2 separate regions of the Homo sapiens genome follow, and region 1 is linked to region 2. Evidence: promoter capture Hi-C in 16 types of primary human blood cells and fetal thymus (Javierre and others, 2016). All regions are on one chromosome and are shown on one strand. Each heading gives the region's core, a stretch centred on a gene start or on the middle of the fragment in contact. The rest is flanking DNA. Distances are from core to core; before and after follow the strand shown.

Evidence for each region. The method cuts DNA at HindIII sites, captures the fragments that hold promoters and counts their contacts. A CHiCAGO score of 5 or more calls a contact.
Region 1: a contact is called between a fragment that was not itself captured here and the fragment with the promoter of TMF1 in region 2, in 1 of 17 cell types (total B cells). The highest score is 5.9, in total B cells.

What each region holds. Positions count from the first base shown.
Region 1 is chr3:72,849,859-72,857,040 of GRCh38, forward strand. No RefSeq gene overlaps it. Among named protein-coding and RNA genes, the nearest start is that of SHQ1, 5.0 kb to the left of the region's middle. The HindIII fragment of the contact is 192 bases long and covers 1,318-1,509 here.
Region 2 is chr3:69,046,946-69,053,966 of GRCh38, forward strand. It overlaps TMF1 (TATA element modulatory factor 1), which reads right to left and starts at 5,388. Exons shown (of 17, transcript NM_007114.3): 1 at 5,000-5,388; 2 at 413-1,617. The coding sequence starts at 5,141. It overlaps MIR3136 (microRNA 3136), which reads right to left and starts at 2,090; the gene lies at 2,013-2,090. RefSeq lists an enhancer at 4,980-5,449. The HindIII fragment of the contact is 2,649 bases long and covers 2,978-5,626 here.

The DNA.
Region 1 (7,182 bases), core at 164-2,663, 3.8 Mb after region 2:
GTTATTACCACCTACTTTGTTTCACATTCTAAAGCCAAGCCTGCCTGCTTTAGACCATACTGAGCCTTACAAGTAATAGGCACTCAATATTGACAATGAATTGATGCCAACTTTGATTTAATAAAGCTCTCAAAAGGTCCCTTGAGATAGGCCTGTGACTAAACTATTCCAAATTAGCTTCTTTACAAAGAATCTTGGCCGGGAGCGGTGGCTCACACCTGTAATCCCACCACTTTGGGAGGCCGAGGGGGTGGATCACCTGAGGTCAGGAGTTCGAGACTAGCCTGGCCAAGATGGTGAAACTCCGTCTCTACTAAAAATACAAAAATTAGCCAGGCATGGTGGTGTGTGCCTATAATCCCAGCTACTCAGGAGGCTGAGGCAGGAGAATCCCTTGAACCCAGGAGGCGGAAGTTGCAGTAAGCCGAGATTGTGCCATTTCACTCCAGCCTGGGTGACAAGAGTGAAACTCCATCTCAAAAAAAAAAAAAAGAAATAATCTTTACATCTGCCATGGGACCTCATTCCTGTAGGTCACAAGCATTAATATTTTTAAATTATTAATGCCAGAGAATCAACTGAAACAAGCTATGCTATCCATGAGGAAATTCTAATTGAAAGCACTTTGCAAACTAGAGCTGTGCATTTCCTGGGTACTTTATTATGTGTCTGGCAACACACACACACACAGGACTGCAACACAGGAAAACAGACAACATGGTTCAGTGCTGCCGTCATTATAAGAAATATATACTGCATCTGCTAAATCACAAAATACGGATAGTTTCAAGTATATAACAAGGTTTTGTTGTTTTGGGTTTCTGTTGGTTTTTGTTTTCTTGCAGGCAATAGTTCTCTTATTTTTGCATTTCTATTAGTGGTAAATATAAGTTATAGATTCATTCTCACTTAAGAACATAAAGTTCCTTTTGGCTGCCATGCAACTTTGGTTCTTTCTCCTGCTTCCTCAAAGGCAGTCCTAGCTATCACTTCAGACCCTTTTCTATTTCTACATCCATTTCTATGGACCCTGTTGCTTTGTGTTTAGACCCACTTTATATGGGCACATTCTCACACTATGAAAGTAATTCTGCAACATGCTTTTTTTCCTACTTTGGTTCATTTTTGAGACATAGCTATATTGATTCATAGATCAAATTGAGTTTCTATTTCTGAATACAGACATTGCTTGAGAATAAAGACATTATTTTAATGTTTTAAATTAGCTCTGGTTTAGAGGGGAAAACAGGAATGCAATTTTTCATCATTTTTGAGCATTCAAATGTTGCAGTGTTTTTTATCTTTTCATTTTCTGAAAGCTTACTTTTGAATGGCCTTCCACTGTTTTAAAAATAGTTTTTCCTTCTGGCCTATAGAGAACATGAAATAAAATAATAAGATAAAGTTTTTTCCATGACCAACTTATGTAGGACAAGTGTGTAACCTATCATCTTTCATTATATTAAATTGGCCCCTCCTCTGGTCTAACAACCCTGATTGTGATCCATAAGCTTCCAAATTAAATGTTAAATTAAAAATGGTTTTTATAAACAATTCCAATGTCAGCTTTATTACCAAGTTCTATTGTTAGAAGTCTTTTAATGGTGAAATACTCCTTGTTTCCAGAAGGTGGCATGCATATAGGTGATTAAAACAATGTTATCTCAAAGAATGGAGCTTTAACCTATGTTGAAAAATAGCTTCCTGAATAAGTTGTTTATAGCGCTAGTTCATTCTCTGAGCCATTTTGGGGAGGTGGTGGAATCTTACACAGTATTTGCAAACTACGTCTTAACCACTGTTATTATTTTGGCATACATCTTTTCAGACTCCTATTCATAAAAGTATGGGAAGTATTTTCAACAAAAGAATGTCATAATCTATATTTGCTTTCTTCACTTAATATAGGATTACAGGCTGGGCACGGTCGCCCATGCCTGTAATCCCAGCACTTTGGGAGGCCTAGGCGGGTGGATCACTTGAGGTCAAGAATTTGAGACTGCTGTGGCCAACATGGGAAAACTTTGTTTCTACTAAAAATACAAAAAAATTAGCCAGGTGTGGTGGCACCACCTGTAATCCCAGCTACTCGGAAGGCTGTGAGGCAAAAGAATCCTTTGAACCTGGGAGGTGGAGGTTGCAGTGAGCTGAGATTGCACCATTGCACTCCAGCCTGGGTGACAGAGCAAGACTCCATATCTCTCTCTCTCTCTCTCTCTCTCTCTCTCTCTCTCTCTCTCTCTCTCTCTATATATATATATATATATATATATATATATATATATATAATATATAAAATACATATGTGGCATTACAATATTTCCATTTGACTACATTTTTGTCAAGAATAAGTTTATCCACAATTGTACTCTTTGTTTTTTTGTTGTTTTTTTTTTCAGAGACAGGGTCTTGTGCTGTTTCCCAGGTTGGAGTGCAGTGGCAGGATCATAGCTCACTGCAGCCTCAACCTCCTAGGCTCAAGCAATCCTCCCACCTCAGCCTCCCAAATAGCTAGGACTACAGGTATGTTTCACCACACGCAGCTAACTTTTTTTTTTTTTTTAGTAGAGACGGGGTCTTGCTATGTTGTGAAGGCTGGTCTCAAACTCCTGGCCTCAAGCACTCTTCCCACTTCAGCCTCCCAAAGCACTGGAATTATAAGAGTGAGCCACCACTCCTGGCCTAGTGTTAGAACTCTTAAAAACAGAATTGAACACAGTGATGATTCATTTTAAGAAAGGAAAAAAAAAACTAATACTAGGATCATGAAACTAGAGTAAAAATACCTAATGCTAGATGACGAGTTAGTGGGTGCAGCGCACCAGCATGGCACATGTATACATATGTAACTAACCTGCACAATATGCACATGTACCCTAAAACTTAAAGTATAATTTAAAAAAAATTAAAAAAATACAAAAGTTAGAGTACAAACTGGATAACACATTTTGAAGTTTGAAAAAAATCCTTTTGTATAACAGTGGTAATACAATGGCACTCATGAGTTTTTTATTTAAATTTATTTTATTTTAGGTTCGGGGGTTCATGTGCAATTCTGTTACATGGATATATTGCATAATGGTGGGGTTGTCCTTCTAGTTAGCCATCACCCAAATAGTGAACACAGTACCCATTAGGTAATTTTTCAGCCCTTACCCCTCTCACTCTCCCCCCTTTGGAGTCCCCAGTGTCTACTATTTCCATCTTCATGTTCATGTGTACCCATTGTTTAGGCTCCTACTTATAAATGAGAACTTATAGTATTTGATTTTCTATTTCTGAGTTATTTCACTTAAGATAATGGCCTCCAGCTCCATCCATATTGCTGCAAAGGACTTGATTTCATTCTTGTTTATGGCTGCATAGTATTTCATGGTGTAATTATACCACATTTTTTATTTTATTTATTTGGGACAGAGTCTCGCTCTGTCGCCCAGGCTGGAGTGCAGTGGCGCCGTCTCGGCTCACCGCAACCTTTGCCTCTCGGGTTCAAGCAATTCTCCTGCCTCAGCCTCCCGAGTGGCTGGGACTACAGGCGTGTGCCACCACACCCAGCTAATTTTTTGTATTTTTAGTAGAGACGGGTTTCATCATGCTGGCCAGGCTGATTTTGAACTCCTGACCTCAAGTGATCCACCCACGTTGGCCTCCCAAAGTGCTGGGATTATAGGCGTTAGCCACTGCACCCAGCCACCACATTTTCCTTATCCAGTCAACCACTGATGGACACTTAGGTTGATTTCATGACTGCTATCATGAATAGTGCAGCAATACATATATGAGTACAGGTTTCTTTTTTTTTTTTTTTTATGAGATGGAATCTTGCTCTGTTGCCCAGGCTGGAGTACAATGGTGCGATCTTGGTTCACTGAAACCTCTGCCTCCCGGGTTCAAGTGATTCTTCTGCCTCAGCCTCCCGAGTAGCTGGGACTACAGGTGCGCACCTGGCTAAATTTTTTTGTATTTTAGTAGAGATAGGATTTCACCATGTTGCCCAGGCTGGTCTCGAACTCCTGAGCTCAGGCAGTCCGCCCACCTCAGCCTCCCAAAGTACTAGGATTACAGGCATGAGCCACTGCACTCAGCCAAGTGTCTTTTTGTAATACAATGATTTATTTTCCTTTGGGTAGATACCCAGTAGTGGGATTGCAAGTTCAAATTATATTTCTATTTTTATTTATTTGAGAAATCTCCATACCGTTTTCTGTAGAGGTTGTACTAATTTCCATCCCCACCAACAGTGCATAAGCATTCTCTTCTCTCCACATCCATGCCAACATCTGTTGTTGTTTGACTTTCTAATAATGGCCATTCTGACTGGTGTTAAGATAATGTCTTATTGTTGTTTTAATTTACATTTCTCTAATTAGTGATGTTGAACATTTTTTCATGTTTATTGGCTACTTGTATGTCTTCTTTGGAGAAATGTCTGTTCGTGTCCTTTGCCCACTTTTTACTGGGTTTTTTCCCCCTTGTTGAGTTGTTTGAGTTCCTTGTAAATTCTGGATATTAGTCTTTTGTTGGAGGCATAATTTGCAAATATTTCCTGCCATTGATACCCTGAGTTTTGCAATTCCAAGCTATAAACTGCTTCTAAGAGGACACAGATAAATTCGTGGGTAACTGACAGATAAATACAGGACTGTAAAAGAGGTTTAAGGGATGGTCCCAACAGGATGTAGACTAAGAAGACCATGAGTCTGACACTGGTGACCTCCAGTGGTTTTCAAACCCCTCTGGATTTAAGTGCAGCTATTTTTGTTCTTTTCCCCAATCCTTTAGCCCATTCACATTACAGTTGTTAGAGTTAAACTTGCTAAGGAGCACAGTGTTAGCACTAATGTAGCATAGTAATGAGTATTTCAGGGAGGATTCAGCCCAATTCCAATTTTGCACAAGTTCGATAAAGCTCCAAAGAAAATCCAAAATGGCTACAGCTGACATAAGAGTGTTTTTTGACAAGATTTCTGAGCAATGTACCTAAGGGCTTAGTGATATATATATCAAGATGCTAGTCTTATCCCATTAAATGAAATGCAGGATCACAAAAGAATGCTAACTGAACAGCATTTCAAGCCTCCTTCATTGTTTAACATCATATTTTGAAAAAGCATCTGCAAAAGGTACTATTCTGATGCCCTGCCCAGATTCCCTTTATGGAGCCAGGAAGCTCATCTGTCACTAGCAGTGAATGTAATGGCTTGCCACTGATCCCGCCAAAGAATTGCCTTAGCTCAGGGTTTCTTCACTCCAGTATTTTGTGCAGGATCATTCTTTGTTGCAGAAGGCTGTCCTATGCACTGTAGGATGTTTAGCAGCATCCTTATCGTCTAATCTCTCAATACAAGCACGAGTTTTCCTGGTGTAACAATCACAAAACTTCTCCAGACTTTGCCAAATGCCCTTGAGGGGACAAAATTGCCCAGGGCTGAGAACAGCTGCTCTAGATTGATAGAAGAAACCTCCAGGATTTAATTACTACCACGACGACCGCTACCCCCTTGCCCAAGCCTGCAATCATGAAGAGCGATATGGGGTTCAGAAGACCACCTCAAAAGGGAAGGTGACTCTGTGGCATGGCTTATGCTCCAGAGTTTTGTTTTGTTTTTTTTAATGGGATCCAGCCGAGGCTAGATTTTCCCCAAACCCACATCTTTCTTTGGCTGTCTTCCCTTTTCCCATTCCCTTTCACCTCCTCCTTAATAAATTTCTCCAGAGAACCCTTCCTCATAGATCACATGCATCAAAATCTCTCAGGATCTGGCTGGGTACAGTGGCTCACGCCTGTAATCTCAGCACTGTGGGAGGCAGGGGTGGGCAGATCACCAGAGGTCAGGAGTTCAAGACCAGCCTGGCCAACAGGGAGAAACCACGTCTCTATTAAAAATACAAAAATAGGCTGGGCATGGTGGCTCACGCCTGTAATCCCAGCACTTTGGGAGGCCGAGATGGGTGGATCACCTGAGGTCAGGAGTTCGAGACCAGCCTGGCCAACATGGTAAAACCCTATCTCTACTAAAAATACAAAAATTAGCTGGGCATGGTGGTGGGCACCTGTAATCCCAGCTACTCGGGAGGCTGAGGCAGGAGAATCACTTGAACCTGGGAGGCAGAGGTTGCAGTGAGCCGACATCGCACCAGTGCACTCCAGCCTGGGCAACAAGAGTGAAACTCCATCTCAAAAATAAATAAATAACAATAAATAAATAAATAAAAATACAAAAATTAGCCGGGCGTGGTGGCGCATGCCTGTAGTCCCAGCTACTTGGGAGGCTGAGGCAGGAGAATTGCTTGAACCTGGGAGGTATAGGTTGCAGTGAATGGAGATCGCACGACTGCACTCTAGCCTGAGCGACAGAACAAGACTCTGTCTCAAAAAAAAAAAAAATCTGTCAGGATCTGCTTCTAAGGAACCTGACCTATGACCACACTTACGGAACCCCTTAAACATTCTTCACACTCCTGCAAAATTACTGGAGAAAAGTTTCTACAGTACCCATGGAGAACAGCTGATTCAAGTCTTTATCTTACTTATTAAAAAGTTCTTACAGTCTAGTTATCCTTAGCCTAACTAATGTTTTCCTTGATTCAGAGTGAACATATTTTTATTTTTATTATAATTTTTTTTGAGTTGGAGTCTTGCTGTATCGCCCAGGCTGGAGCGCAGTGGCGCGATCTCGGCTCACTGCAATCTCCGCCTCCTGGGGTTCAAGGGATTCTCCCACCTCAGCCTCCCAAGTAGCTGGGATTACAGGCACATGCCACCACACCCGGCTAATTTTTGTATTGTTTAGTACAGATGGGTGTGAACATATTTTTATTCCCTCATGCAGAAATGATTTAAATGTACCTTTTTTGGCTAGAAAGATTGTGGTGGGATTGTAAACTGGTATAACTACCTTAAAAAATTGTTTGGCAGTATCTACTAAGGCTAAACATATGTATACCTTGAAATTCCTCTTTTATACATAACAGAACTGAAGTAATATTCAGTCGAGAGACACGTACCAGAGGGTTCATGGATACATTATTCATAATAGTCAAAACTGGATACAATTCAAGTGCTCATTCAGAGTAGAATGGGCGGAGCCGGGCGCAGTGGCTCACACCTATAATCCCAGTACTTTGGGAGGCTGAGGTGGGCGGATCACGAGGTCAGGAAATCAGGACCATCCTGGCTAA
Region 2 (7,021 bases), core at 4,138-6,637:
ACAAATTCTGATACAAGAAAAACCATAACATTTAGTTTTTTTGGCACATCTATCTGCAAAGGAGGTGAAGATACATGTTAATGTAAGAAAATATTCCTTTCAAATTGACATACTAATAAGCATAACAGAATTTTGAAGTGATAAGGACTCAAAAATAAAGATGTAAGATGAAAACTTTCATGCTTAACTGTATTGAAGTATCAACTTATTCTACCATAATTGCCTTGGAGAAATTCCAAATTATATTAATAATTGTTCAACTTCAAGGTACTTAATGCTACACAGAAATGGCAAAATGCGTATGTTTTTAAATCTGTATAAATTATTATGCATCAATGAAAGTATTTTTTAAAACAAATGATTTAATCTCCAAAAAGCACATCTAAAAATCCCTTCCACTTACTAGAGTTACCTTGCAAACATCTTCCTTCTCAGAAAGTGCTTCTGGCTGACTTTCAGCAGGTTCACACTGCTCAGCCACCTTGTCTAACACAGTCTGTCCTTCATTTATTGGTGTGGAAGAAACCAAGATATCAGGCTGTTCACAGTTAACAGGAGTTGCACTTCGTCCACTTTCTTCCATTTCTGCTTCCTCAGTGGGTATAACTAATGTTTCATTTACTTCTTCAGATTTTCCTTCAGCAGATTCAACTGTTTTAGACTTTGGAGTTGAAGAATTAACTATAATAGGCACTAAAGCATATCCCTTGCCTGACAATTCATCATCTGAATTGATTTCACTTACACTCCGGCTATCTAATGACTGTACACTAAATGAGTCTATTCTTTCAAAAGCATCAGATGAACAGCAACTCTCAGTGAGTTTTTGGAAATCATCTAAACGATTATATTCAGGACAAGCAGATGCAGAGAGAAGCTGAAAAGATGTCTGCATCAAGTGAAGACTTGATTTTGAATCTGTAGTCTCTTGTCTCGAGCTCGCTGAGCTCTCACTTATTACACTTTCATGATCTAAAACTTCAATATCACTGGTGGTAGAAGTACCTGATGAAAAGGTACTAACAGGAGGAGAAGGTGTATTGCTCTGCCTGTCTTCATGTTTTTGTTCCTTAGGTTCCAAAGCTATGTCCTTTGTTTCTGCTGTGAGAGACTGCGTAGACGTATTAGATATACTTTCCATAGTTGTTTTCACATCAATTACACTTTCAGATACTTTCAAACTTACAGTTGGCACCTTCATATCCGATTCTTTATTAACAGTTTCTTCGTGCTTGCCTTCAGTTTTAGGTGATGAAGTACCTGCTGCCAGAGTTTCCCCTGAAACACACAAAGAAGAGTCTTTTACTTGTGATTCAGTTGTTTCAGGAGTTCTTGACTGGCCAATGTGCAAGGATTCATGTAAGCTGCTTTTCACTTCTTCTTCTGGTCGTTGTGATTTTGCTGGAGGTTTTGATACCACTGGACTCTTCTGAATGGTCTGGACATCAGTTGGCGAGAGAAAGGCACTGAAGAAATTTTCAGATTCATCGACCACAGTCCTCCGAACTGGCTTTGTGATTGCTTTAGGAGAGGCTATTGGTGGACTCTGAGGTTCAGTGTTTGATTTCAACCCCCAGGTTGAAGTATCCCATCCTCCACTGACAGGGGAACTTATTCCTTTAACAAAAAAGTAAATATTAAAAAAGAACACATATATGTTACATTAATATTTCAATCATCATTATAAATCAGTATAAATATAAATTTAGAAAAAATACCCTATGAAATACCTGTAATTTGCACCTGCTAAACTCCTTGCTTACTACATCATTAAGTAGTTTCCAAGTTAATACAGGGACTTACGGAAGAAAACTGGTGTGGGTCCACCTGAGAGGAAGGAGGAGCACAGACAAAAGACTGGGCCTGGCCTGGACTACCAGATGCGAGTATGTTATTCCTCCCCACAACAAATTAAGGAAGTAACAGTATATGTTTTATAACCCACAGTAAGTCCAAGATACCTATGATTCATCTCATAATAACACGCTTTACTTATCAATATGAAATAAACTAATATGGAACTAACTGAATAGGTTGGGCCATGTGCAGTCACAGAAAAATGACCCTACCTATTCAGTCAGTTTCATATTAATTTTTACTTGTAATATCAGTAATATAGTTATGAGCTAGACAAAGGGCAACACTCAAAAACTGAACTCAGTGGGTATGGAGGTTCACACCTATAATCCCAACACTAGAAGAGTCATTTGAGTCCAGGAGTTCAAGACAAGCCTGGGCAACATAGTGAGACCCCTGTCCCTACAAAAAAATTTTTTTAATTAGCTGGGCCTGGTGGCCCACATATGTGGTCCCAGCTACTCAGGAGGCTGAGGTGGGAAGATCATCTGAGCCCAGGAGGTGGAAGCTGCAGTGAGCCATGATCAAACCACTGCACTTCAGCCTGGGTGACAGATCGAGAACCTGTCTCGAAAACAAACAAAACAACAAAAGCCTCAAACCAAGATAATGGTGACAAATGTTCTTTCCCGAAGATCATATTAAACTGATGGGAATGGTAAGTTCTAGAGAACAAATTCATTTTCATCCACTTAATCACAGGCTGATTCTCTAAATCCCACTCTCCAAGCCCACTCTAAGAGGAAGTTTTGTTCTCAAATTCTAAATTATGTCAGAAATTACAAGGTCATTATAAATTTCAGAAATGTGTGTTTTTTTAAGAACTATTGCTCTTTGACATAGAGGTGGTTGACACTAGGGTTTTTAAAAAAGCGCTACAAAGAAAATGACTGTTTTCTTGGGGAAAAAGTTAATTATCATATCAGTCATACAAATAGCTACTACTAAAATCCTGATTTTTAAAAATGGCATAATCAGGATCTTAAAAATGGTATATTCGTTAAAGTATTTAAAGCATTTCTTTAAAAATGTTTTCTTTTTCAAATTAAAATGTGGCTGAACAAAATATTCACAAAATATTCACAATTAGAAGTTGGTGGAGAGAGCACAAGTAACTAAAAGCTTCTAAAAACTATCAAGCCTTATAGTAGAATCTATCCTTTAATATGACTTCAGGCCAGGCGCAGTGGCTCACGCTTGTAATCTCAGCACTTTGGGAGGCCGAGGCGGGCGGACCACCTGAGGTCAGGAGTTCAAGACCAGCCTGGCCAACATGGTAAAACCCTGTCTCTACTAAAATTACAAAAATTAGGCAGGTGTGGTGACGCAAACCTGCAATCCCAGCTACTCGGGAGGTTGAGGCACGAGAATCACTTGAGCTCAGGAGACAGAATCTGCAGTGAACAGAGATGGCACCACTGCACTCCAGCCTGGATGACAGAGTGAGACTGTGTCTCAAAAAAAAAAAAAACAAAAAAACAAATATATATATATGTAAATATATGTATGACTTCAAAGGCAGTTAGGATGAAAAGTATGTAGAAAACTTCAGTTTGGAGGCATAGTTCTACACATTCATTTGCACAATATCCAAACCAGAGAAAATCAAAATTAAATATGCAAATGAACAACCAAGATTATGTCTGATTAATTTAAATACATTCAAAAGATGACAGGAATTAATTTTGCCTCTTGGAGAATACTTTATATAATCCCAGGGTTATTTGGTATCCATCTAAATTATACCATTCTGAAGACTATGGGCATTTTCCGAAAACAAATATCCTTATATGTAAAACCTATATTCTATCTTATCTAAAGTTTAGTAATTCTAATTAACTGGGGCACATATGAAAAAACAGAGTTACTCCAGCAAGGTTATATGACATCTTGTAAAAAGTAAAGAGGATCATCACATACACACATGGACCAAAATATCTTAAACTGAGGTACCTCAAATTTAGGTCCTGACTTTTCAATGATGTAAAATTAAGAACAGAAACCAGAAAGGAGTAGTCAAGTACATCTCTTATCCTTTTTCACACAAAGGTTCACATCCCCCAACACCAGCAAATCTTTACCCCACACATCAAATGCTGAACTGTTCCTTAGACTTAAGAGTCAAAAGCAACTGAATGAAGATCCCTGAAAGATTAAGCTCAATGAAACTGCAAAGAGAGACTTGGCTATTCAGAAATAAAATGTGATACCATCCAGAAATCTTGGGTCACACATTTTCCGGCTAATACCTCCGGCACATTCTAATCCTCCTCCGCCGTGTGACCTAGAGCAAGTTACTTGGCCATTCTGGGCCTCATTTTCCTCTTATGTAAAACACGGATATAAACCAAGCTCTCTCTGGGAGTTGTTCTGAAGATGAGAAGGCCATAAAAAAGCACATTACAGGCTCGTGCCTGTAATCCCAGCACTTTAGGAGGCCGAGGTGGGTGGATCGCCTTAAGTCAGGAGTTCCACCAGCCTGGCCAACATAGTGAAACCCCGTCCCTACTAAAAATACAAAAAGTTGCCGGGCGTGGTGGTGGGCGCCTGTAATCCCAGCTACTAGGGAGGCTGGGGAAGGAGAATCGCTAGAACCTGGGAGGCGGAGGTTGCAGTGAGCCGAGATCGCGCCACTGCACTCCAGCCTGGGCGACGGAGTGAGACTCCGTCTCAACAACAACATAAAACCACATTACGCGCTACCAAGCGCGAAATGTTCACTGACTGTTAGCGATTGTTCTTCCCTTCCCTGATGATTTACGTACTTCAGACCTTGGATCCCAACAGTGCCCGAGACGCGAAGCAATTCGAGGTTCAGGTTCGGGAAGGTTGTGCTTGGAAGCTGCGTCGAGGGAGAGCTTGAGGGCAAGACCAACCAACCAAGTCCCCTGTCATCCAAGTCCACAAGCCTCGCACCCAGGACCAAAGAAAGACAAGGGGGAACCTGGATCTGGGTTTTCCCTCAGGAAAACAGCAAAGACCGACTTGGAGGCTGAAGCAGCATTAGGGAACGGGCCGGGGAGAAATTACTTCCTGAAAACTCTCTCAGCAAGGAAGGACCCCTCTCTACACCACTTAACCTGCCTGCATCAAGAGAACAGCAGCCTCCGGGAGCCAGGAACCCCGCTCCTCTCTCTCTTACCCGGCTCTCCATACGGAATGGTCTCGGCCCAGATGCTCGGCTCCTCTTCCTGGATGTCCAGAACCCTGTCAATAGACTTCTGGGCCTGGGACAGGGCCTGCTTAGCGAAGCTGGAGAGCTGGGAGGCGTTGAACCAACTCATCGCCCCTCCTCAGCCGGCAGTGGCGGCGGCAGCACCAAGCGGGAAGGCCTCAGGCCTGGGGAAGGGTGCAGAGGAACGGCTTCGCTCCCCTTTTCCACTCGGCTGGTTCTGTCAGCGTGTGGCCATTACCCCGACAGCCTCCCGCGAGCCCGGGATGTTACCCTCGGCCGTTCCCGCACAGCTGAGACGAAGGGGGCCCATGTGCGCATGCGCTTGCTTCTTCCACGTACACAGCAACCAAATCTACGAGCCCAGAGTTCGGTCGACAGACGGAAGAACAGAAGAACGTTGACGTCACATCCGGGAGCGCAGGGTTGCCGTTAGTTACCGAGGAACGCGGAAGGGTTTCTATTGATGTCGATTTCGTGCTTACAGCAGTTCTTAGCGAAGGGGAAGCTATGGCTACCGATAGAGGTCGATTTCCCCGGAAGGAATATTCAAGTTTTCGTGTGTGTGCTTTCCAGGAAAATAGTTCACGTGCTAAAAGCTTGCACCTTGCCAGCAATAATTGCAAAGGGAAATTGGGCCTCACACTTCTCTTAGCCCTTTGTCTCAAATATTTAATAAGCTCTGTATTAACTTGGTATTGTAAGGAGAAACACTTGTTTGGGCTTGCCTAAAAGACAGGATCACGTATGAACACTGTGTCCAACTCGTGGAACACATGGTGCATAAAGCACAACCTCTCTCTCAAAATAGTAGTAAACTCATTGCTGCAGTCAAAATACCCCTAATACTGTGGTCTGTCGGTGTCCCCTGCACAAATTCCTATGTTGAAACCTAATCTCCAATGGGACAGTATTAAGGGGAGCCTTTAGGAGATGATTAGATGATGATGGAGCCCTCATAAATGGGGTTAGTGCCCTTATAAGAGAGGCCCAAGGGAGCTCACGGCAAGAAGGCACCAACTCTAAGCCAGAATAGCAGCCCTCACCAGACACCAAATCTGCCGGCTCCTTATCTTGGACTTCTCAGCCTCTAGAACTGTTAAGAAACAAATTGCTACTGCTTATAAGCCACCCAGTTTATGGCAATTTGTTACAGCAGTCCAAATGGACTAAGACACCTAGGAAGCACTAAAGCTGTTATCCTAACAATGTGCACTGTGCATATTACTTAAAACATAACCTTTTCTGTGTGCATTCTCTTCGAACATTTGGACATGGGAAAATACCTTAAATTGGTGGCCTTCCTAATCCAGTCTGCAGCTATATTTGGTTTGGGCCCAAGTTAAAGACAAAATCCTAACTAAAAGCCAGATTTCATTCAAAAATCTAGATTTCCAGCTGCTTTTGAAAAATATGAATACCAAGCATGGGAATAGTCAGCCAGAGTGGTCACCAAATAATTTTCACTCACTCCAGTTTGCCACAGACCCCTATCACTCATCCTATTACACCCTCCCTGCTGTGATTATTTACCTTATATGCCTGCCTCCCATATTTGAATATTTTACCCCACTGCAAGGAACTCTGCAAAAAAGAATTATTTTTCTTTTAAAAAATCAGATTGAACCCCTTAAGAAGTTATAATCATCTTCCAATAATTTTATCTAACTACAGTAAAAACTTGCATGTTAAAACTAACAATTTAGTCATGTACACAAGTAGTACCAAGTAACTCAAGTACTTTCAAACAGCTAAGTAGTCTGCAGAGGAGATTTGGGGCAGATTCGGGTTGAAATTAGCTGTACAGTTACAGTTCCAAGACTTCTAATTGTACAGCTTTGGTGAAATGACCTACCTAAACCATCTAAAACTATTTATTCAGCTCTCAGATAGAGTCACCTTCTTACAATGCTACTTTGAGAATTATTATAGCACCTATATGGTGCTAAATTTTAGTTCCTTCACTTTCAAAATTGTAAGCTACACCTGTAA